2 separate regions of the Homo sapiens genome follow, and region 1 is linked to region 2. Evidence: promoter capture Hi-C in human tissues and cell types (Jung and others, 2019). All regions are on one chromosome and are shown on one strand. The core of a region is centred on a gene start or on the middle of the fragment in contact, and the rest is flanking DNA. Distances in the headings are between cores, read along the strand shown.

The links. Contacts are between HindIII fragments. The study calls those that stand out against the background at their distance.
Region 1: a contact is called between a fragment that was not itself captured here and the fragment with the promoter of FBN3 in region 2, in 1 of the 25 tissues and cell types used here (pancreas).

Annotation. Positions count from the first base shown.
Region 1 is chr19:8,103,461-8,110,385 of GRCh38, forward strand. FBN3 (fibrillin 3) reads right to left here. Exons shown (of 64, transcript NM_032447.5): 35 at 6,171-6,293; 36 at 5,767-5,928; 37 at 4,710-4,778; 38 at 2,648-2,773; 39 at 102-227. Among named protein-coding and RNA genes, the nearest start is that of FBN3, 43 kb to the right of the region's middle. The HindIII fragment of the contact is 6,298 bases long and covers 1,796-6,925 here.
Region 2 is chr19:8,146,047-8,152,876 of GRCh38, forward strand. FBN3 (fibrillin 3) reads right to left here and starts at 3,546. Exons shown (of 64, transcript NM_032447.5): 1 at 3,403-3,546; 2 at 1,268-1,451; 3 at 1,058-1,140; 4 at 81-179. The coding sequence starts at 1,434. RefSeq lists enhancers at 761-1,732, 1,733-2,703. The HindIII fragment of the contact is 21,800 bases long and covers 2,443-6,830 here.

The sequences.
Region 1 (6,925 bases), core at 3,695-6,194, 41 kb before region 2:
TTACCCTCCCTCTCCATAGGCTTGAAGGCTCCCAGCAGTTCCTCCCATGCCCAGGTGCTGCTTCTGTGACTGCCAGTTCCCTAGGTCATCACGCTTCTTACCCATGCAGTTGTTGCCACCATTGACTTGGAGGTACTCTGCAGGGCAGACACAGGTGTAGTTCCCCAGGGTGTTGTAGCAGGTGCCAGGGCCACAGATGCCGGAGTGTGTGGAGCATTCGTCAATATCTGCAGGGAAAGAAGGGGTGGAGGGGAACAGTGGGCAGCGTCCAGGAATTGTCTGAATAACTCCACTCCAGAGACCCAGCAAGGCCACTTCACCAGGGACCTAAGTTTGGTTTCAAAATCAGTTTAAAACGCACACACATCTTAGTGATGAAGAAAGCTATAATATGGGCTGGGCATGGTGGCTCATGCCTGTAATCTGAGCACTTTGTGATGCTGAGGTGGGAGGATCATTTGAGCCCGGAGTTCGAGACCAGTCTGGGCAACATAGCAAGACCCCATCTCTACTAAAAATTTTAAAAAATTAGCTGGGCATGGTGGTGCATGCCTGCAGTCCCAGCCACTTGGGAGGATCACTTGAGTCCAGGAGGTTAAGGTTGCAGTGAGCCGTGATCACGCCTCTGCACTCCAGCCTGGGTGCAGAATGAGATCCTGGCTCTAAAAAACAAACAAACGAACAAAAACAATATGACATTAAGTGAAAAAAAAAAAAAAAAAACATTTACAAGCTGGATGCAGTGGCTCATGCCTATCATCCCTGCTTTGGGAGGCCAAGGCAGGAGGATCATTTGAGGTCAAGAGTTTGAGACCAGCCTGGGCAACATAGTGAGGTCCCATCTCTACAAAAAATGAAAATTTAGCTGGGCATGGTGGCACACGCCTGTGGTCCCAGCTACTTGAGAGGCAGAGGTGGGAGGATCACCTGAGTCCAGGAGGTCAAGACTACAGCAAGCTGTGATTACACCACTGCACTCCAGCCTGGACAACAGAGTGAGACACTGGCTCTAAAAAAAAAAAAAAAAATTCCTAAAAATAAAGTTGATGATGATACTGCTTCTATTAGGAACAAAATGACCTGAGTTCATGAGTCAGTTTTATAATCACCAAGAAAGGATCATCCATGTCTTCCTAATATGATATGATAGGAATCAAGGACCTTATGGATAAAGTATTCTTGGGGGAAAAAAATTGATTCTCAATCTGGTCATTACTCTAGTCCAGGGGTAGTAAGCTTTTTCTGTAAAGGGCCAGAACATTTTGGTTTTGCGGGCCAAACTACAGTGTGCCATGATTATTCAATCTGCCAATGTAGCAAGAAAGCAGACACAAACAATATGCAAACACACTGTGGCACTGGCTGTGCTCCAAGGAAATTTTATTTATGGACCCCTGAAATTTGAATTTTATATAACTTTCTTTTCTTTTCTTCTTTCTTCCTTCTTCTCTTTCTTTCTTTCTTCTCTTTCTTTCTCTCTCTTTCTCTCTCTTTCTTTCTTTTATTTTTTTTGAGACAGAGTCTCACTCTGTTGCCCAGGCTAGAGTGCAGTGGCCTCATCTTGGCTCACTGCAACCTCCGCCTCCCAGGTTCAAGTGATTCTCCTGCCTCAGCCTCCCGAGTAGCTGGGACTATAGGCATGTGTCACTATGCCCGGCTAATTTTTGTATTTTTAGTAGAGATGGGGTTTCACTATGTTGGCCAGGCTGGTCTCGAACTCCTGACCTCGTGATCTGCCCACCTCGGCCTCCCAAAGAGCTGGGATTACAAGCATGAGCCACTGTGCCCAGTCTTTTTTTTCTTTTTTTTTTTTTTAAGACAGGGTCTCGTTCTGTCACCCAGGCTGGAGTACAGTGGCACAATCACGGCTCACTGCAGCCTCGACTTCCGAGGCTCAAGTGATCCTCCTGCCTCAGCCTCCCAAGTAGCTGGGATTACAGGCGTGAGTCACCATGCCCAGCTATTTTTTTAATTTTTTGTAGAGACAAGGTTTTGCCATGTTGCCCAGGTGGGTCTTAAACTCCTGGCCTCAAGCAATCCTCCCACTTCAGCCTCCCAAAGTACTGGGATTACCAGCTTGAGCTGCCACGCACCCAGCCTTGAATTTCATATAATTTTCATGTGTCACAAAATGTTATTCTTCTTTTGGTTTTTTCAACCGTTGAGAAAAGTGTAATAAAGTATTCTTAGCTAGCAGGCAAAAATAGGTAGTGGAATATTAGCATGGTAAGAGTGATGTCACCAAAAATAGCAGAGCAGGGAACTCCAGGGCTCCATTCCTCCACAAAAGCAACTATTGAGCTGGCAAAACAGACAAAAATAAACTTTTGCAGAACTCTGGAATCAGTCAAAAGCTTACAACATCCAGACAAAGATATGGTGAAGAAGGAAGCTGCTGTACTTCATAAGGGAGTGTCGTGGCATTTTAAAGGGTCTATCTACCATCCCCCACACCACAGATCCACAGCAGCCATGAACATCTTAAAGGCAGCAAGAGAGAACTGACAGATCATGACAAAAGAGGAGGCAGGGGGCAGAAGCCTTTCCATGAGGCCTTCCCTCCTCTACCCTTGTGAGGCTTGGCAGGGCAGGAAGGCAGGGAGAGAGCGGAAGAGCCTGACCCACCCCAAAGAGAATCCATGCTCACCCTCACAGATGCGGGTGTGCTCACTGAGGTGGTAGCCAGGTGGGCACTCACACTGGAAACTGCCAAACGTGTTGACGCAGTCACCCCCCTGACACAGCCCTGGCAGCTCTTGGCACTCGTCGATGTCTGTCAGGAAGTAAGGAAGCCAAGCTTGGGAGCTAAACCCATGCAGAGGACTTAAGGGGCACCCACACCATGCTCTGGGTTCTCCAGGGCCCTCTCGAGGATCCCCAAGTGCTGTCCATGACTGATAGACATTTAAAGGGTCTATCTTGATGGCTGGACACAGATTCTCTTGAGTTAATGTTACCCTAAATTCAACTCCATTCCCTTCATCTGTTAGTCCATTCTCCCATCCACCACATAGTTTCCTCTAGATAGAGAAATAGATAGTTTTCTTCCTCTAGATGGAGAATAGTCTTCTCCAACCTTGTCACTCCCTATAGAAAGGATGGATGGGAGGATGGATGAATGGATGGATGAGTGGATGGATGCATGGATATGAAACAGTGGATGGGTAAATAAGCAAGTGGGTCAATGAATAAGATGATGAGTGAGTGGATGGATAGGAAGGTGGATGGATAGGTGAGTAGACAGGCAAATGAGTGAATGGGTGGATAAGTGGATGGATGGATGGATGGATGAATGGATGAATAGATGGGAGATAGAAGATGGATGGAAGGGTGGATGAATGGGGGAATAGAAAGGGAGTAGGGAACGGGTGGATGGGAAATGGGTGGATGGATGAGTGGATGGATGGATGTATTGAGGATGGATGGGTGAATGGGGGATAGATGGATGGGTGAATAGATGGATAGAAGAATGAGAGATAGGTGGGTGGGAGATGGATGGATGGGAGAGTGGGAAATAGGTTAATGGATGGGTGAATGCGGGCTAGATGAAGGATGGGGGGTGGATGGATGGGTGAATGGATGGATACAAGGATAGCAGAGGGATGAGTGATGAATGGATGAATGGGTGGATGGGGCATGGTTGGATGGAAGGATGGAGGGATGGATGGAAGGATGGATGAATGGAAGGATGGATGAATGGGTAGATAAAGGATAGTTGGATGGAAGGAAGGATAGATGAATGGGTAGATGGGGGATGGTTGGGTGGAAGGATGGATGGATGGAAGGATGGGTGGATGGAAGGATAAATGGACAGAAGGAGGGGGGATGGATGAAAGGATGGAGGATAGATGAAGGATGGGGGATAAATGGGTGAATGGATGGATAGAAGGATAGGAGGGGAATAAGTGGGGGGATGGATGAATGGGTAGATGGAGAATGGTTGGATGGGTGGAAGGATGAATGGATGAAAGGATGAGTGGAAGGATAGATGAATGGATGGATGGTCGAGTGGAAGGATGGATGGATGGATGGATGGATGGATGAATGGATGGAAGGATGAGTGGAAGGATGGATGAATGGATGGATGGTCGGGTGGAAGGATGGATGGATGGATGGATGGATGGAGGGATGAATGGACAGAAAGATGGGGGATAGATGAAGGATGGGGAATGAATGGTTGACTAGATGGATGGATAAAAGGATAAGAGAGGGATGAGTGGAGGATGGATGAATGGGTAGATGGAGGATGGTTGAATGGAAGTATGGAAGTATGGAAGGAAGAATGGATGGAGGATGGCTGGATGGAAGGATGTATGGATGTACTGGATGGATGGAAAAAATGGAAGGATGGATGGATGGATGGATAGATGGATGAATGGCTGGATGGATGGGTAGAAGGATGGATGAATGGATGGAAGGATGGGTGGATGGAAGGATAAATGGACAGAAGGATGGAGGATGAATGGAAGGATGGGGGACAAATGAAAAGATCAATAAACCAACAAGTGGAAGAAATGGCTGAAAGAACAGATAAAAAAAATTAAACACAAACTAAAAGCATAGTGTGGTCCTGCTGCTCAGCCTCCAGGTGGAAAGATCTGCCCCATCCCAGGACAAAACTACTCAACTCTACACTTTGGTGAGGTGGGGATGAGAGAAAAGTCAGTCTCTAGGCAGACAGATGGATGGATGATCTGCCAGGAACTCACCTTCCAGAATGACAGTGATGCGGTTAGGCTGGAAGCCCTCACCACCCGGGCACAGGGTTCTGTACTCAGCTGTAAAGGGAAACAGGCTCCTGTGAGGTGGGGTATTGGGGCAAAGCTTAGGGGAAACAGGGGAGCAACAGCAGGAAGCCTGAAAAGGGCTCAAGAGTGGGCTCCCATCCTTCTACTGTACTAACGACATCCCCATATCTCTTTAGCCTCTTGGGGCCAAGAGACTTTGGCCAGTCCTGGGGCTGCTTGCGTGTGTGTGTGCATGTGCGTGTGCATGCGTGTGTGTGTGTAAATGTGGGTTCCCATTCAACATGTGAGCAGAGTTATGTGGTAGTGGCTGGGGGTAGGAGGGAGAGAAGATTATTCCTTCTGATCCAAAACCATATCCTAGTGTAACTGCAAGTTTTCCCCATGCAAGGAAGACCTTGGACATTCACACACGCATACACCTGAATAGGTGGACAGGTACCTCCCTGTTTCACACCTGAGGCCTTTGCACATACTGTTCTCACTGCATTGCACATCATTCCCCCTACTCTGCTAGGAAAACTCCTACACATCCTTCAAAACCTCACTCAAGCCTCCTCCCCTGGAAAGCCTTCCCCAGAGCTTTCACTTCCCCACAGCTTTCTCCTGAGCTATGGGTATGCCTCAAAGAAAACCCTTAGGACAGTTCTACTCTCACAGTCCTGAAACTGTTGATTTAAGGGTGAGGGAGAAGCAGCGTGCAGAGGCTGTGGCTCATCCTTCTCTGAGTCCCCAGTCCCCAGCACATGACACAGAGGAACTCTCAATATTTGTTGACTGACTGAGTGATCAAGTGACTATAAACACAGAGAATTTACAGAAAGCGACCTTGGAGAGAGGCCCAGCCAATGAACTACCAAGACGTACACTGTGTGACCCAGGATGAGCCCCTCTCCTCCCCCAGTTCTTGGTTTTCCTGTCGCCTAAGCCCCCCACCACCGCCATTAGCAGAGGTGACCCCCTAAGCTCCCGGGCCTCGGTGGCTTAGGTCACGGTGTTCAACTGCCCCGCAGGGACTCACTGGTGTTGGCCATAGGGCACAGCTCACAGGGATTGCCCCAAGCCCGGCCCAGGGAGCAACAGCAGGAAGCTCGGGTGACACCAACTCCGATCTCGGCACTGCAGGAAATGCCACTGTCCCCTCGGTCATGCGTCTCCAGGAAACAGTTCCCGGCCCGAGTGTCTGAACAGGCAGAAGGGGATGGTTAGTAGGTGTCAGAGGGAAAGCTGTATGTGTGCGTGTGCATGCATGTGTCTATTTCAACAGGTGACAAGGACAACCACTCTTGCAGGAGACCAGCAGATGTCCCGTTTGTCAGGAGCAGGTAGATTTGAACACGTTGACATCTGAGTTAACCCAGTGGGGCAATCCCACCCACCTCTGCTGACCCCAGAACCCTGATCTGGAGTTGAGCATGGACTCACCCACGCAGCCCACTCCGCTGGGGTTCAGCTCAAAATCCTGGGGGCAGCTGCAGAGGTAGCTGCCGGGGGTGTTAATGCACACGCCGTTGATGCAGTTTACTGGGTCTGCACACTCGTTGATGTCTGTAGGGAGGAAGCGCGGTCCTCAGCAGGGAGCCCCTTCCTCGGCCCCCCTCCCTCCTAGCTTCATCCTGGGAAGCTACAGCCCTCGCTCAAGGTCAACTCCTGGGCACCAGATTGTGGGACAATGTCATGTCCTTCCCTGGGAAGAAACCTAAGGGGACAGGAGCCTCCAGTCTGTCCTGTCCCCTCCAACCCCATTCCCTCTCCTGCTCTGTTCTGCCTGGCAGAGTTTTGTTCATTGAACTCTACCTGCCCTGGGTTCCATGCAGTCAACATATGAAAATCATATCTATTTTATTTCCGTAATTTATTGATGTTTAGAGACAGGGTCTTGCTGTGTCGACCAGGCTGGAGTGCAGTTGCACAATCACGGCTCACTGCAGCCTCAAACTCCTGGGCTCAAGCGATCCTTCTGCCTCAGCCTTTGGAGTAGCTGGGACTACAGGTGTGCACCACAATGCCCAGCTAATTTTTTATTTTTACTTTTTAGAGATGAGGTCTCGCTATGTTGCTCAGGCTGGTCTCCAACTCCTGGCCTGGAGTGATCCTCCCACCTCAGCCTCCCAAAGTGCTGAGATTATGGGCATGAGCCACCACTCCCAGCCAAAACCCATATATAGAAAATACTTTCA
Region 2 (6,830 bases), core at 2,296-4,795:
AAAAGCAGCCCAGGCTCCTCGTGGCAACCAGAACCCTGTGAACTTCTTCTCCCTCCCGCAAGAGGCCGCTTCCCGCTCACCTCGGCTCACCCCGCAGCTGGGAGCCAGCGTCCCATCCGCACAGGTGCACAGGTTGGGCTGGGAGCAGAAGCCTTCACCGCAGGCGCGCCTACAGATGGCTGGATGAGTGCAGCGGGTGGCAGTCAAGACCAGGACCGAGCCTGGGCCGTCCCTGCTCCATTGGTGTCCGGGCTGGCCGGAACACCTCAGTGGACGCTGCTGGTCATCTGCATCCCCGGCTCTGCTCATAGCACACCCCACCCCTGTTTTCATGGGATGTCCCCCCACTCTCGGGCTGGGCTGGGCAGGGTGTGTGACCCAGGCTGTGGGTTGGGGACTCTGCTAGAGCCATGGGGAGAGAATGCTCTTTGGGCCAGAGCTGCTGAGCTGTGAGGACAGAGCTGGAGGTGCTGGGGTCCTGGATACTGAGGTTGGGTGTCTCCTGGGAAGTGGAGTCAGATTCCAGAGACAGAAACAGAAAGAGAGGGTGAGGCCAGAGAGAGACAAACAGAGAGAGACTCAGAGAAACAGAGAGAGAGAGAATCAGTTAGATAGAGAGACAGTAACCAACAGAGAGAGGCCAGGTGCAGTGGCTCACACCTGGAATCCTAGCACTTTGGGAGGCTGAGATGGGAAAATCGCTTGAGGCCAGAGTTTGAGACCAGCCTGAGCAACACAGAGACCCCCATCTCTAAAAATAATAATAATAAAGAAAAGAAACCAACAGAGAGAGACATGAGCAGAGATGAATAGAGAGAGGCAGAGACAAAGCAAGGGAACCAGAGAGACAGACAGACACAAGGAGGTTGTAGGGCAAAGGAAATGAACATGGCAGGTTGGCCTGGAACCCTGAGGACAGACGCAGATGCAAGGGCCATTCCTGTGGTTCAGCCAGAGGTCCCTGGCTAAGTCCCCGTGTAAACAGAGCTGAACCTGCAGGCAGGTAAGAGTGTCCCCGGCCTGTGCCCCCCCACCTCCAGACGGCGGTAGCACTCACGTACGACACACTGGCTCCTGCCAGGGAATGTCCTCCAGCCTGGACAGCAGTAGGCATGGAACCGGGAGCCGCACACATTCGGCCTTCGGGGACAGCGAGATGGGTCTGGTGAGCCCCTGCCCGTGTGGACATCCCCCCGGGTATTCCGCTGGCCCCAGGACAGCCCAATCCACACCGAAGGGGTCTCCCAGCATCCCAGGTACCACGCACCCCTGCAAGATGCCTGGGCTGCCCCGCCTCCGCACACGTCCAGGACCTGCAGCCTCCAAGGCCCCGTCCCAGCGGCCTTGGCCACCTGCCATGCACAACAGGGCCGACCAGGCCAGCAGGAGCCGGGCCAGGGGGCCCCTTGCCAAATACAGACCCTCCAGAGTCATGGCGTGTCCCCTGGAGGCTGCGGAGAGGAAGCAGAGTCAGCCCTAGATGAGCCCCCCACCCTAGCCATGGGGGACCCAACACAACGAGGAGGGCAGGGTGGTTGCCAAATGGGGCAGCCCCGGGGCCTCTGGGAGCCCAAGGAGGCATCCAGCCCCAACCGGGAAGCGGTGAACAGTCAGAGGAGGCTTCCTGGAGGAGGTGTGATGTTAGAGAAGGGTCTTGGGGCTGAGGGTGCACAGCCAAGGCAAGACGGGAGTGGGAAGTGGAAGGGAGGGGAGAGAGGGCCAGGTGGGGCCAGGTGGGGCCAGGCGTTGCAGGAGTGGGCATAGCAGTGTCATGCAGCTTTTGCTCATTCGTCAAGGACAATGAAGAGCCCTTGAAAAGCTTTGAGTGGGAGGAGCAAGGTCAGAAATGCATGTTAGGTGGTGTGGGGAAGGGCAGCAGGGTCCCGGGGGGGAAACAGGGTGTCAGAAGGCTGGGGGCTGTCCAGATGGGAGAGAGAGGAGAGGAATGGGAGGCTCATGTCGTGGGAGGTGGAGGGCATTGAGGAGATTCCCAAAGTTCTAGCTGGGACGGTGGAGCCCAGAGAGCGTCCAGGGTAGGAGGAAGATGGTAAGTCGTGGAAGGCAACAACCCCACTGTCCCTCTGTGACACAGATACCCCCACTCCTGCAATGCCTGGCCCCACCTGGCCCTGTGTCCCCTCGCCTCCACATCCCACGCCGGTCTTGCCTGGGCTGTGCACCCTTAGCCGCAAGACCCTTTTCTAACATCACACCTCCTCCAGGAAGCCTCCTCTGACTGTTCACTGCTCCCAGGTCAGGGCTGGATGCCTCCCTGGGCAGGGGGCCCAGGCAGGGGCTGGAACTTCCCAATGCAGAGAGTAACCCTGTGCCCAGCAGGGAAGGGACCGCTTCTGTGCCCATTTCACAGATGCACAAACTAAGGCCATCACACCATGAGTGAGGGGCTAAGCCGGAGCTTAAGCCCACGAAGAGAAGAAGGAGGGGAAGAAGATCAGGAACGGAACTCGCTCCTGCCCCCCTTGGCTGGGTCTTTCCTGGGCCATGAAGGACGGGAGGGAGAAGACCGGGACAGGAGACGACCGTTTGGAGGGTGGAGGCAAAATACTTGAGGGAGAGAAGCCAGACCAAGTGGCCTTCCTGTTCCATTCAGGTTCCAGGGAGGAAAGGAACCGGCCCTAGGTGGAGAATGGGCGGGGAGCCCTGCTGTGTGGTCTTGGCCACGCCCCTCTCTGGGCCAACCTGGTTGTCCAAAGGCCCCGGAGAAGGGAGAGACCCCTGTCAACGTTGGAGGGTTGGCTGGCTGGAGAGGGGCGCCCTCTTTTTCTTCTCAGTTGTCCGGGTCAGTCCGCACTCTGAGGCTCCGTGGACTCCAAGCAGCCTCGGGGCTTGCAAGCCCTCCTCCCCCACTCCCTCCGCCCCAGCCCCCTGCCTCGGGTCGGGTGGGGGAATTAGGTGGGGGGAGTCTCTGGCCTGATTTGCCTCGGTCCCCCCTACACACCGCTGCTTCTGCGAGCCACACCCTGGAGTTTGTGGAATGAATGAGCAGAGAAGGCGCGCCCGGCACGGGGTGTGGAGGCTGAGGGCCAAACAGCGAGGGATACCAAGCTTCGCCGACGGGGAGGGGGCGCCCCCGGAGCCCGCGGGGCGCGATCTCCACCCGGCAGGGCCCCCGGCCGCGACCACGCTTGGCTCCGCCCTCACCTGTGGGGTCAGGGGCCCCGCGCCCCGGCCGAGCCCCTCCCGCCGGGTCCCCGCGCCCCCACTCCCCACTGCGGCGGGCGCCACTAGAAGGCGGAGAGGGGAGGGGGCTGGGCCCGGGGCTGCCCGGCTGCGAACAAAGGAATCCTCTCCCCCTCCCCCTGCCGGCCCCCCCGCCCCCGCCTTCTCCACCCTTCAGCGCCCGCGATCTCGCCCCGCCGCTGGCCCCGCGCCTTCACCTACCTGCGAGGCGGCGCGCGTGGAGGCGGGCACGGCAGGCGGACGCGCGGGACTCAGCGCTGCAGGGCGGGCTCCTGCGGCGCCGGGGACCCGGGGCGGGAACGCAAAGCCGAGAGGCCGACCCCGCCGCGTTCCCAGCCCAGAGCTGCCACTCGGGGGGGAGTTGGGGGCGGGAGGAGTTGGAGGAGGGCGCGTTTGCACCTCTTAGCTCCCGGGGCGGGGACGGGGGGCTCCGATCCGGGGCGGGGAGAGAGGCTGCGGCTCGGGGGAGGGTCCGGGGCTCCGAGTGAAAAACTCCGATGGACTGGAGGGATGTGAGGGCGGGCTGGGGGCGCCTAGTAGGGGCTGCCGGGGCCGCGTTTTCGGATCGAGACTAAGGTGGAGGTGGGGCTCTGACTTTTGGAGGGCCTGGACGACAGCCTGGGCAGAGAAGTCCCGGGACTCACCTGGGCGGCCCTCTCAGGGCCTCCCAAGCCGCCACCCCCTCCCTCGAGCAAGGAGAATTGCGAGAGTGACGTTGGAAACTCACCTGGCTCTTGGAGCCTGGATTCTTAACTAGGCTGAGATCAGGGGCCCCTAAATATGTTGACAAAACATTGGGCAAAGCTGTATTTCCCAGGGAGAAGGGCCCAGGTTTTTCATCTGGTTCTCAAAATGAAGAGGTTAACAATTCAAACGGTGTAAACTTTCAAATCTCTTTGAACCTGTTTGTCCACCTACCAAAGGGACCAGACAAGAATTTTGGCTCCCTATCTGTTGTCAGTACTCCAAACAAAAATTTCTAGGCTTTTCCACTACCTTCATACCTTTGAGAATAGACCCTTAACATGGGGATCTGTCAGAAGCTGTGCGTTGGGCCTGAAGCTGTTACTCCATCCAGCAAACTCCTACGCATCTGTCAAAGTCCAGTTCAAAAATTCCCTCCCTATCCGCAAATTGTGAGTTTACTCTATTGAACTCCCAAAGCTGATTGTGCTGAATATCCCCCCACCACAGTACTTCCGGAATCTAATAAATAAGTAAGCCCAGTGGGCTTGAAACCAGGAGTTCGAGACTAACCTGGGTAACATAGTGAGACCCCATCTCTAAAAAAAAAAAAAAAAAAAAAATTAAAAAGAATTAGCCAGGCCTGGTGGCATGCATCTATAGTCCCAGCTACTCAGGAGGCTGAGGCAGGAGGACTGCTTCAGCCTAGGAGGTTGAGGCTGCAGTGAGTTATGATTGTGCCACTGCACTCCAGCCTGGGCAACTGAGCAAGACCCTATCTCCAAAAATTGGAGACCCTGTCTCCATTCCGGAAGTGCTATGGTGGGAGTATATTCAGCAAGTCAGCTTTGGGAGTTCAATAGGGTAAACTCACAATTTGCAGGGAGGGAGAGGATTTTGTTTATGTTTTGTTTTGTTTGTTTTTTGAGACAAAGTCTTGCCCTGTCACCCAGGCTGGAGTGCAATGGCACGATCTTGGCTCACTACAACCTCCACCTCCCAGGTTCAAGCAATTCTCCTGCTTCAGCCTTCCGAGTAGCTGGGATTACGGGCTTGTGCCATCATGCCCGGTAAATTTTTTGTATCTTTAGTAGAGACGGGGATTCACCATGTTGGCCAGGCTGGTCTCGAACTCCTAACATCGTGATCCACCTGCCTCGGCCTCCCAAAGTGCTGAGATTACAGGCGTGAGCCACCGAGTCTGGCCCAGAAGGGGATTTTTGAAGTAGGTTTTGACAGTTGCATAGGAGTTTGCTGGAGGAAACAGAACAGGCAAAGGCCTGGAGAAGGAGAGAACTTAGAACAAACATGCCTGGATGGAGTGAGGTTGGAACTTTAGGAGAGAGGAGAAGGGGAGGGAGCAAGAGGAAAGCAGGAAACATAAGAAGAGGCTAGAAGCACCGAGGAGCCCTCAGCAGGCTCCCCCCCCACCTCTGAGGGGAGACACGGTGGACTCACAGAAAGGGGAGGTTCTCCCAAGGCTCCACTTCCAGGTCTTAGACTGTGTCCGGGGAGCATTGAGGGCCCCAGGGCTGGGCTCGGGGAGCATGGGACAGACGCCGACTTCAGGGACAAGATCCAGTCATCCTGGCCAAGGGAGGGGCCCGTGGACCCTGTGAGAAGGGTCAGGTGGGGTGCTGGGGCATGGGGAGGGTGGACTGGGGAGGGAACCCCAGGATGGAGGTGGCCCAGCAGAGACAGGGGGGTGGGGTTCCTGTTGGAGGGTGGGCCCAGGGGCTATTGTGGACAAACCAGTTTCCCCGGCCACCTTGGACACCTCTTTCCAGGCTCCTCTGCCAAGGTCCACCCAGATTTGTTCTGCAACAAATGAATCTTACATGGGCACGGGGACAAGCACCGGGTGCCCTAGAAGCAGCCCAGCATAGGTGCAAAAGGTGGGGAGAGATTGTCCCATCCCAGGGACACTGCACAGCCACTGTTGCCATGGCTAAGTCTGGAGGAGGGCTTTCCTGGAAGAACTGTGGGCCAGGGAGCGACTCAGTCCTAGAAGTCTCCCTACCTGCCCTCCAGAAGAGAGGGGAGAAGGAAGCCGGAGGGTGTGGCAAGACCAGGATGTGGAGCTGTTGGAAGTCACCGCAACTGAAGTGCTCGAAAACGGCAGATAGTGGGCATTGGTTGTTCACAGCCCCCAACCCAAGCTACTGTCCACACCGCGTGCTGTAGTTTCAGACTTCCCATGGTGCCACCCTGGTCTGTTATGTTATTGCCAGTTATTGATGTGGTATCACAGACAGTGTCACCCCCCACTGTACCCTTATTACATCACACTGTTAAGAAGGGACATTTAGGCTGGGCATGGTGGCTCACGCCTGTAATCCCAACGCTTTGGGAGGCCGAGTTGGGCATATCACGAGGTCAGGAGATCAAGACCATCCTGGCTAACACAGTGAAACCCCATCTCTACTAAAAATATAAAAAATTGCTGGGCGCGGTGGGTCACACCTGTAATCCCAGCACTTTGGGAGGCTGAGGCGGGCGGATCACGAGCTCAGGAGATCAAAACCATCCTGGCTAACATGGTGAAACCCCGTCTCTACTAAAAATACAAAAAATTAGCTGGGCATGGTGGTGGGCGCCTGCAGTTCCAGCTACTCGGGAGGCTGAGGCAGGAGAATGGTGTGAACCCGGGAGGCAGAGCTTGCAGTGAGCCGAGATGGTGCCACTGCACTCCAGTATGGGCGACAGAGCGAGACTCCATCTCAAAAAAAAAATAAATAAAATAAAAATAAATAAAAAAATTAGCCAGGCACGGGGGCACACACCTGTAGTTCCAGGTACTTGGGAGGCTGAGGCAGGAGAATCGCTTGAACCTGGGAGGCAGAGGCTGCAATGAGCCAAGATCACGCCACTGCGCTCTAGCCTAGGCGACAGAGCGAGACTCCATCTCAAAAAAAAAAAAAGAAGGGACATTTAGGCTTTAAATC